3 separate regions of the Homo sapiens genome follow, and regions 2 and 3 are each linked to region 1. The links are contacts of gene promoters, found by promoter capture Hi-C in human tissues and cell types (Jung and others, 2019). All regions are on one chromosome and are shown on one strand. The core of a region is centred on a gene start or on the middle of the fragment in contact, and the rest is flanking DNA. Distances in the headings are between cores, read along the strand shown.

Evidence for each region. Contacts are between HindIII fragments. The study calls those that stand out against the background at their distance.
Region 2: the fragment with the promoter of TBC1D10A here is called in contact with a fragment that was not itself captured in region 1 in 1 of the 25 tissues and cell types used here (dorsolateral prefrontal cortex).
Region 3: a contact is called between the fragment with the promoter of OSM here and a fragment that was not itself captured in region 1, in 1 of the 25 tissues and cell types used here (IMR-90 fibroblasts).

Annotation. Positions count from the first base shown.
Region 1 is chr22:30,000,424-30,003,090 of GRCh38, forward strand. It overlaps MTMR3 (myotubularin related protein 3), which reads left to right. Exons shown (of 20, transcript NM_021090.4): 9 at 2,457-2,570. Among named protein-coding and RNA genes, the nearest start is that of MIR6818, 5.3 kb to the right of the region's middle. The HindIII fragment of the contact is 4,025 bases long and covers 1-2,667 here.
Region 2 is chr22:30,325,645-30,328,311 of GRCh38, forward strand. It overlaps TBC1D10A (TBC1 domain family member 10A), which reads right to left and starts at 1,297. Exons shown (of 9, transcript NM_031937.3): 1 at 1,029-1,297. The coding sequence starts at 1,237. RefSeq lists an enhancer at 1-653 and silencers at 870-919, 1,220-1,549. The HindIII fragment of the contact is 10,227 bases long and covers 1-2,667 here.
Region 3 is chr22:30,265,482-30,268,148 of GRCh38, forward strand. It overlaps OSM (oncostatin M), which reads right to left and starts at 1,370. Exons shown (of 3, transcript NM_020530.6): 1 at 1,285-1,370. The coding sequence starts at 1,318. RefSeq lists enhancers at 534-613, 674-773. The HindIII fragment of the contact is 14,267 bases long and covers 1-2,667 here.

The DNA of each region.
Region 1 (2,667 bases), core at 103-2,602:
GCACTCCAGCCTGGGCAACCGAGCGAGACTTTGTCTTAAAAAATAAAAAAAATAAAAAAAAAAAATATATATATCCTTCTCCTACGTTTCCCTGCATCATTAATCATTCTGCGGTCCTCTTAGCTGTCTCAAATTATGACGGGCATTTTCCTGGTCTGTTTGTGGCTAGCCGTCAGAGTTTTCACTGGAAAAGCTATAGCTAATTGCTATACACAGTTCTTAATGTGGACCTTCTCCAGGGAGTTGAGAACCCAGGGTGTTTTGAAGAGTTGGAGCTGCAGACTTTTTATACTTTTGCCTGTTCTCAGTGATGAGTCAAAGCAAAGAAGGAGGGTGAATGCTGGATGAGGGGGCGGCCTCAGAGAGCCTGTGGCTGCATTAGGCTTTCCTGAGTGTAACCTATACTGGAAATTGTTTATCCACAAGTGAGTAGGTAGTGCATACTGAAGAGCTGACTACTGGGAGTGTAGTACCTATAGGACAATGAACAGAATGTTTAGAAAATTAGATCAAGTAAAAAAAAACTGTGAATTAAGACAGACTTGTTGGAAAATAATCCCCAATTCGGCTTTTAAAAATTAACTTCTTGAGAGGCCAAGATAGAGGATTGATTAAGCCCAGGAGTTTGAGACTAGGCTGGGCAACATAGTGAGACCTCATCTCTACAGAAAATTTCTTAAAAATTTGGCCAGGCATGGTGGCTCATTCCTCTAATCCCAGCACTTTGGGAGGCCGAGGCGGGTGGATCACGAGCTCAGGAGATCGAGACCATCCTGGCTAACACAGTGAAACCCCGTCTCTACTAAAAATACAAAAAAATTAGCCAGCGTGGTGGCGGGCGCCTGTAGTCCCAGCTACTCAGGAGACTGAGGCAGGAGAATGGCGTGAACCCGGGAGGTGGAGCTTGCAATGAACCGAGATCATGCCACTGCATTCCAGCCTGGGCGACAGAGCGAGACTCCATCTCAAAGAAAAAAAAATTAGTTGGGCATGGTGGTGCATGCCTGTAGTCCCAGCTACTGGGGAGGCTGAAGTAGAAGAGTTGTTTGAGCCCAGGAGGTCGAGGCTGCTGTGAGCCATGACCGCTCCACTGCTCTCTAGCCCGGGTAACAGAACAACTGTCTCAAGGAGTTTACCAGTTATACCTCAGAACCAGTCTTTAGGATGTTATCACCACCATAAAACAAAATGGGGGGTGGTGGGAAACAACAGGATGTTGAAAGTTCTTCCTACTACAAAGGTAGAAGAGTGAGAGCCAAGTTTACTCTTGAGTTTAATACATAATAAAGGGAATGAGATTCATGGTTAGATATTAACCATCATTACTGGCTCCCAGCTTATTTTTAGGAGTTTGTGAATAGGTGTTAGGAAGTTTGTATAGCTACTCTTAGTCATAGCCATTCTCTTTTGTTCAGTGGCTTTTAAATTCCTGAAAATTCCAGAAGTCTCCTCTTCTGGAAATTGAGGAGAGATTTAGTGCAAAATGATCAAAACCCCCAAATCCTAAGCCATTTTGTGTTTTTCTGCGCTTTCTGCTATGTATAGGATAGGCTAGGGCAGGGGGTTGGTGGTGTTGGTGGAGTTTGTGTGTTTTAGGATTTGGATTAAAGGCCTTATTGCCTTCACTATTGAAAAAAGAAGATTGGATTATCCAGAGAGAGACATTGTCCTGTAAGTAAAAATCTATCGGAAGTATTGCTTCCTAGGATACCGGCTTGACTGTAGCTGGGATCTTCCCTAATTAAAAGAAAGCTTATCCCCCCGCCCCCAGTATAATTTGTTCTGAAGTATGTTTTATGGAAATTATGGTTAATAGCTTAGTCACATTACTAACCTGGTTCAATGGGACTGAGGCTGTGTATGCAGATAGACTGGCTTGTGTTGGTTTTGCATACCCATGGCTGCACCTGTTACCTATAAGGATGACACCCTGTTTGGTTCAAATCAAAGAATGAGTTAATCCTGTGAAGTCTCTGGAAACTTGCAATTGTGGGCTTTTTTCCTTCCCTGAGGGTCTGGTAGAACTGACACGGACTCTCAGTTCTGTAATTGGACTGGGCGCTCATGTAGTTAGAAATAACCTATGTACTTGTTACAGCAGAAGAGTTGTAATGGAGTATAAAGAGCTGACCCTCGACTCCCCTTTTTTTCATTGATAGTTAAGATTGCCAGATTCCCAAAAGGTAGCATCAAGTGGAACAATTCAAGATAGTATCATTTGTTGTATACACATAAGTAAACATTTAAGGCAACAAAACAAAACAAAACACACTTATGGTAACCCATTCTGTTGAGGAGTCCAAAACTCGAATAAAGCGCCTCATTGCCTTTAACTGGTTCTGTGGCAGTGAGATCATCATCCTTATGCTGGCTCACCTAGTGTCTCTCTCTCTCTCCCGTTTTCTCTCTCCCTCTCTTATCCCCTTGACTCTCCCCACTTCTCATCTTCTCTTTAGATTATGTGGTAGCTATCCTCAAGAGCTCATAGTGCCTGCCTGGATCACTGACAAAGAACTGGAAAGTGTATCAAGTTTCAGGTCCTGGAAGCGCATCCCTGCCGTCATCTACAGGTAAGTTAAACTGGACCAGTCCCAGCTTGGGCTGGTGCTGCTGCCTGCTGCATATGGTCTGCTGCCTCTGCTGCTGCTAACCTGGGAAGGGTGGGGA
Region 2 (2,667 bases), core at 47-2,546, 330 kb after region 1:
CTCGGGGGATTCTGTGGGGCAACATGGGGCCCAGCTTGGAGGCAAGGTGCTGTTCCACTGCCCCACATTTCTCTGTCTGCTAGCTGGGTGTCTGGGTGCTCTCGGGATAGGACATCGGGGGGTGCTAATATGAGCAGGGACCCTGCTGTCTCCCTGCCTGCCCCCGTCCCACGCCCAAGATCTGCCCTTGGGAGGAGGCGCATACATACACAGGACATACACAGAGCCCATCTACTGGCTCCTGTGGCTGCTGGAGCTGATGGTCTGTCCTAGTGGTGGGGCTCCCTGTCGCCCTGTACGTGCTGGGAAGGGGGAGTACCTGCCCACCTGTTGCCAGTGCCAGTGGAGGAAGCTGTGTATGAGCGGATAGGGGGCCCTTCTCCGACCCTTCCATGAGGAGAAGGGACTGTCTGTCCCAGGATGGAGCTGAGGGGAGGGAGGTGACCAATGTCTGTCCATCCAGAGGTCTGTATGCCTCGAGGAAAGGGTCAGTCTGTCCTGGGAAGGGGTGGGGGCGGGGCAGTCAGTCCTGAAGTCGGTCTGAGGTCTCCTGGTGTGGGGGCAGTGAGGCGGGGAGACAAGGGCGTCTGTGGGTTTGTGGGAGGGGGAAAGATGGAGAATGAGTGTCTATGGAGGGGGGCGCCAGCCATCTGGGAGCCTGTCGGGGTGGCAGAAACAATCATCCCTAAGGTCTTGGCGGCAGGGGTGGGTTTGGGGCAGTCTGTCATTCTGTTCCACGGCTGGAAGGAGGGCACAGTCGGTCCTTCCTGGGAGCGGGTCAGTCTGTCCGGAGGGTGGAGGTGGCGGGTGGAGGTGTGGGCCCGTCCGCCCCCTGGGTCGGAAGTAGGACTGCGAAGGGGGCGGGTCTAGGAAGGCAGGGGTGGTGGGGGTGGGGCAGGGGAGGGAACGGGGATTAGTGGTCCCTGCCTGGGAGGGGGACGTGTCGGCAAGTCCCGAGGGCGCCTCCGTCCGTGTCGAGGCCCCTCGCGTGGGTGGCGCGCTCAGTCCCGACCCCCGGCGCTACTCACGCGCCCTCGGCGCCCTGCGAGCCCACGATGAAGCCGAACTTGTCGATGCGGCGCTCGGCGAAGCCGTTGGCCTCCGAGTCAGACCCGAGAGAGCTGAGTTCGTCGGTGGTTGCGGCGTCGGGGCCCTGGGCCAGGCTCTCCCGGGTTCCCGACAGGCTTTCCCCGGCCGCGGGCGCGCGCGGCCCATTCTCTCCGTTGCTCTTCGCCATCCCAGCCGCGCCCGCCGCCTGAGCTCCAGCGGCCACCTCAGCCGCCCTGCTGCCGCCGACGCCCCGCCCACGCGCGGCGCCTATTGGCCGCCGCAAGGCCGGGGGGCGGGGCTCCAGGCCCACCCCGGAGCTCTCCCCCCACGCCCAATGGGCGCCGCGGACCCCGGGCCCCGCCCACCCTCCCCCGGCGGGCGCCAACAAGCCCGAAGTGAGGGGGCGGGGCAGCCGTCACCGCAGCCCTCCCCGCCCTCCTCCGGGCTGCCAATCACAAGAACTCACCTGGACGAGCTCGGGCCTTTCCGGGTTGGCTCCAAGCGGGGCCTGTCACCTACTGCAGAGCGCGAGCCGGAGGCCCAGGGCTTCCTCCATGGATTCCTCATCTGCCTCCTGAGCCCCGCTCCCTGCGAGACCCCAAGGACGTGGTAGGGATTGTTTGCCCCATTCATTTATGAGGAACTCTGAGGAGGCCCAAGTGAGTTCAGGGACGCAGAGCGGCTTAAAGGCCCAGCCTGAGCCAGAAGTCTGGCAGTCCCATTGCACTCACTGCTTCTGGGGCTTTAAATTACCTCGTGAGACCTAATTATTAATAATCACCAGCGTTTACTGAGCCACGCACGCCCGAAGCTCTACCTACTTTCTCCTGTAGTCTTTTCCCCAGCAGTTTTATGGAACATAAACATACCATAAATTCACGTTTAAAGTGTACAATGATTTTTAGCATATTTACAGAGTTGTGCAGCCATCACAACATTCTAATTTTAGAACATTTTCATCACCCCAAAAAGAAACTCCTACCAATTAGCAGTCACTCCGCATCCTGGCTCCCCCAGTCCCTGGCAACCACTAATCTGCTTCCTGTTTCTATAGATGTCCCTTTTCTGGATATTTCATATAAATGGAATTATACAATATATGGCCTTTTATGTCTGGATTCTTTCTCTTGAACATTTTCAAGTTTCATCCACATTGTAGCATGTATCAGTGCTTCTGGATTCACATCTGCCCCAGGTATGTCTGACTCCACCCCTCCCTTTCCTGGGATAGGCCCACACCGCCATGAAAGACCTATACTGCCCCTCCTGGGAGCTGGGACTATACCAGATTTTGTTTTTCCATTCATCAGTGATGGTCATTCGCGTGTTTCTAGTTTTTAGCCATTATGAATAATGCTGCTCTGACCATTCAGGTACAAGCTTTTGTGTGGGGGCCTTATGTTTACATTTCTCTTGGATAGATAAGGAAGAGTGGAATTGCTGGGTCATATGGCAACTGTTTAACCTTTCGAGGAACTGGCAAACTGTTTTCCAAATTGGTTGCAACATGTCTTGTAATCTCTTAGCAATGAGGTATACACCATTATTAGTCCCATTTTACAGTTAAGGAGACTGAGGTAAAGTCAGTTGCCTAAGGTCCCAGAATTAGCTGTGAAT
Region 3 (2,667 bases), core at 120-2,619, 270 kb after region 1:
AGCTGACTCTCTGCAAGGTGGGACTGGCTCCCTGCAAGACCACTGGGCTAAAGACCGGCCACTGCCCTAGGACCTGCCTTGTCAGCTGCTCTGGCCATCCAGGTAGATGGGCCTGAGAGGGCTTCAGGGCAGGCAGCCCGGGAGCAGCTTGTGTCCTCAGCTCTGTCTAGAACCAGGAGAGGCTGCCTTTTCAACCAGAGGTGCAGCCTGGAACAGATGTGGAAGACCTTCCAGTCCATGTCCCCACTTTCCTGACAGGTAAACCAAGTCTCAGGAGAAGGTCCTACTCAGGTCACACAAGGCCAGGGCTCTCCCCTGACCTCTCTTGCCTCCCTCCTCTCTCCATAAGTGGCTCCTTCTGTCAGGCCCACCAGGGATGCTGTGAGCCTGTCAGAAGGTGTTGGGGGCGGGTACAGTTACCGCTCACCACCACCCCCAACGGGGCACCGGCAGCCACGTGGTCGGAAGGGGCCTATGGCGCAATGGCCCGGAAGGCAGTGACACCATCGTTCCCGTCCTAAGAACCATCCGGCCCTTTGGGGAAGACTGGCTGTTGGGGAGGGCCAAGGGGCCAGGCACCCAGGCTTAGCGACCCCACGGCACCCTCGCCGCCTCCCCAGGTATCTGCTGCCGGGCTCTGGCAGGGGCCTGTGCCTGTGGCAGCGCACGTGGGACTGGGGTTTCTGTGTGGCTGTGCATCTGGGTCTGTGTGCGGCGTGAGGGAGACCTGTTCCGTTCACCATGGGGACTCTGGTCTGCATGTGGGGGTTCCTGGGCTGGTGAGATCCAGGGCTGTAGATGACGTCATATGGCTGTGTGCGCATGTGGCCATGTGGGTGTGGCTGTGCATGCTGTGTGATTGTGTGGGCCCTGGGGCCCCCAGGCCTGGCTGACTTTCTATTCATCCCGGGCAAGCTGGAGGCCCCACAACCCCTCCACACCTCACACCACTTCCCTGCCCAGCTTCTGAGCCTCCCTCTCCTGCCCAGCCTCTTTGCCCATCCTATTCTCTCACCCCCTGGTTCCCAGAGTTGCCTCTACATCTTGACATCACCTCCCCCTGGAAGCCTTCCAGGGATGCCCCTTCTCTACCTGTGGAGATGCCAGGTTCTCAGTGGACCACTCTCTCTGCCTGACCTCCTGGCTCTCTCCCCTTCTCAGCATCCTTCTGCCTGGCGCCTGGCCTCCCCAGTTCCCGGAGGGCAGAGGGTGCCTCTGCTCCCCACCGGCACCCGTGGGCAGACCCAGCAGGCGGGTTCTGGCGGGGAGGAAGGAAGTACTTACTGAGCAGCGTCCTCTGTGTGAGCAGTACCCCCATGCTGGGTGCCCGTGCTCCGGCCCGCGCCCGCTGGGGGTGACACCTCTCGGCTGGGAGCCCTGCAGGCTGGCAGCCACTTTATGCCCGCTGGGGCGATTGGCCAACACCTCATGAGGTGGGTGGGGATGGGGAGGGGGGAGGGCAGGCCTTCTGGGAACATGACCCCAAAAACCAAAATTTCCACGGGCGGCCAATGGGCGCAGGGCGCGGTGTATGCCCGCTCCTCCTCCTGTTTTCTTCGAATTCGTTCTTCGAGGTCAGCCCTACGCCCAAGGATGATGTAAAACCGCAGCCTCAGCCTTCCTAGGGTGAGTGGGGAGGAAAAGGGTCCATGCCATCTTCAGGGAACTGGGCCAGGGATGGGCAGGAGGGACTTCGAGCTGGGCCTCTGGAGGCCCCAGGCCAGTCTTGGCCCAGGAGCCATTGGCCTCACAGGACACGGTGGTTGGGGGCTGAGGGGAGCGAGACATCTTCCTTCTTGAGTGCCCTTCCTGCCCTCTCGCCGGGGCTGTTGGGACATCTGTGAGCGGAAACCACCGGGCTCTGGGCACAGAGCCAGACGCAGGCTGGCAGCCCCGAGATTGTGGTTCAGGCCCCAGGACCAGCATCCCCCAGCCCGGCTCCCGACGGTCTCCTTTCCCCCATCGTGCACCCTCTGCCAGGCCCACTCCCCAAAGCCAGGCCTTGTCTTTGTAGGCAGGCTCCACTGGGGAGAACTGGACACTTGGAGCAAGAGAAACAGGAGGCCAGGGTTCAAGCCTGCTGAGGTGCTGTGTGACCTGAGGCAAGTCACTTAACCTCTCTGGGCCTCAGAGACCCACAACTATAAAATGAGGAGGAGAAAAGCCTTTCCCAGCCCACCTCACAGGGTTGCTGCCAGCATGGACATAAAAGGAAAAGACCTCTGAAGGAAAAAGCAAAGATGAAGGTCTGATTCCAAGTATTAGCTGTCGAGGGGGCGGGATGGGGGAAGGAGGAGATGGGGAAGCTGTGAGCTCAGAGGGGAAGCCGGGGAGGGGGAGTTGCCGCCTTGACAGTTGGGGACCAGGTTTCACTTTCTCTGAAAGATAGCGATCTTAGGTTGGTCCTCTGCGAAAGGGCCCTGGGAACAGCGCCTCCCTAGTCAAACTGCTACTTTACTGTGGGGTAAACTGAGGCCTGGGTGAAGGCAGACAGGGAGGCCAAGAGGCTGGCCCAGGCCTATAGACCCTGCCTGGTCAGCACATCTCCCAGGCCCAGAGGAGGGTCCTTGGCCTGCACCCTAAGAAGCCCGGGTGGGAGGAGGCCCTCAGGAGTCTGGGGAGTCAGGGTGGGACTCCTGGAGGCTGCCAGGGAGGCCTGAGCTGCTC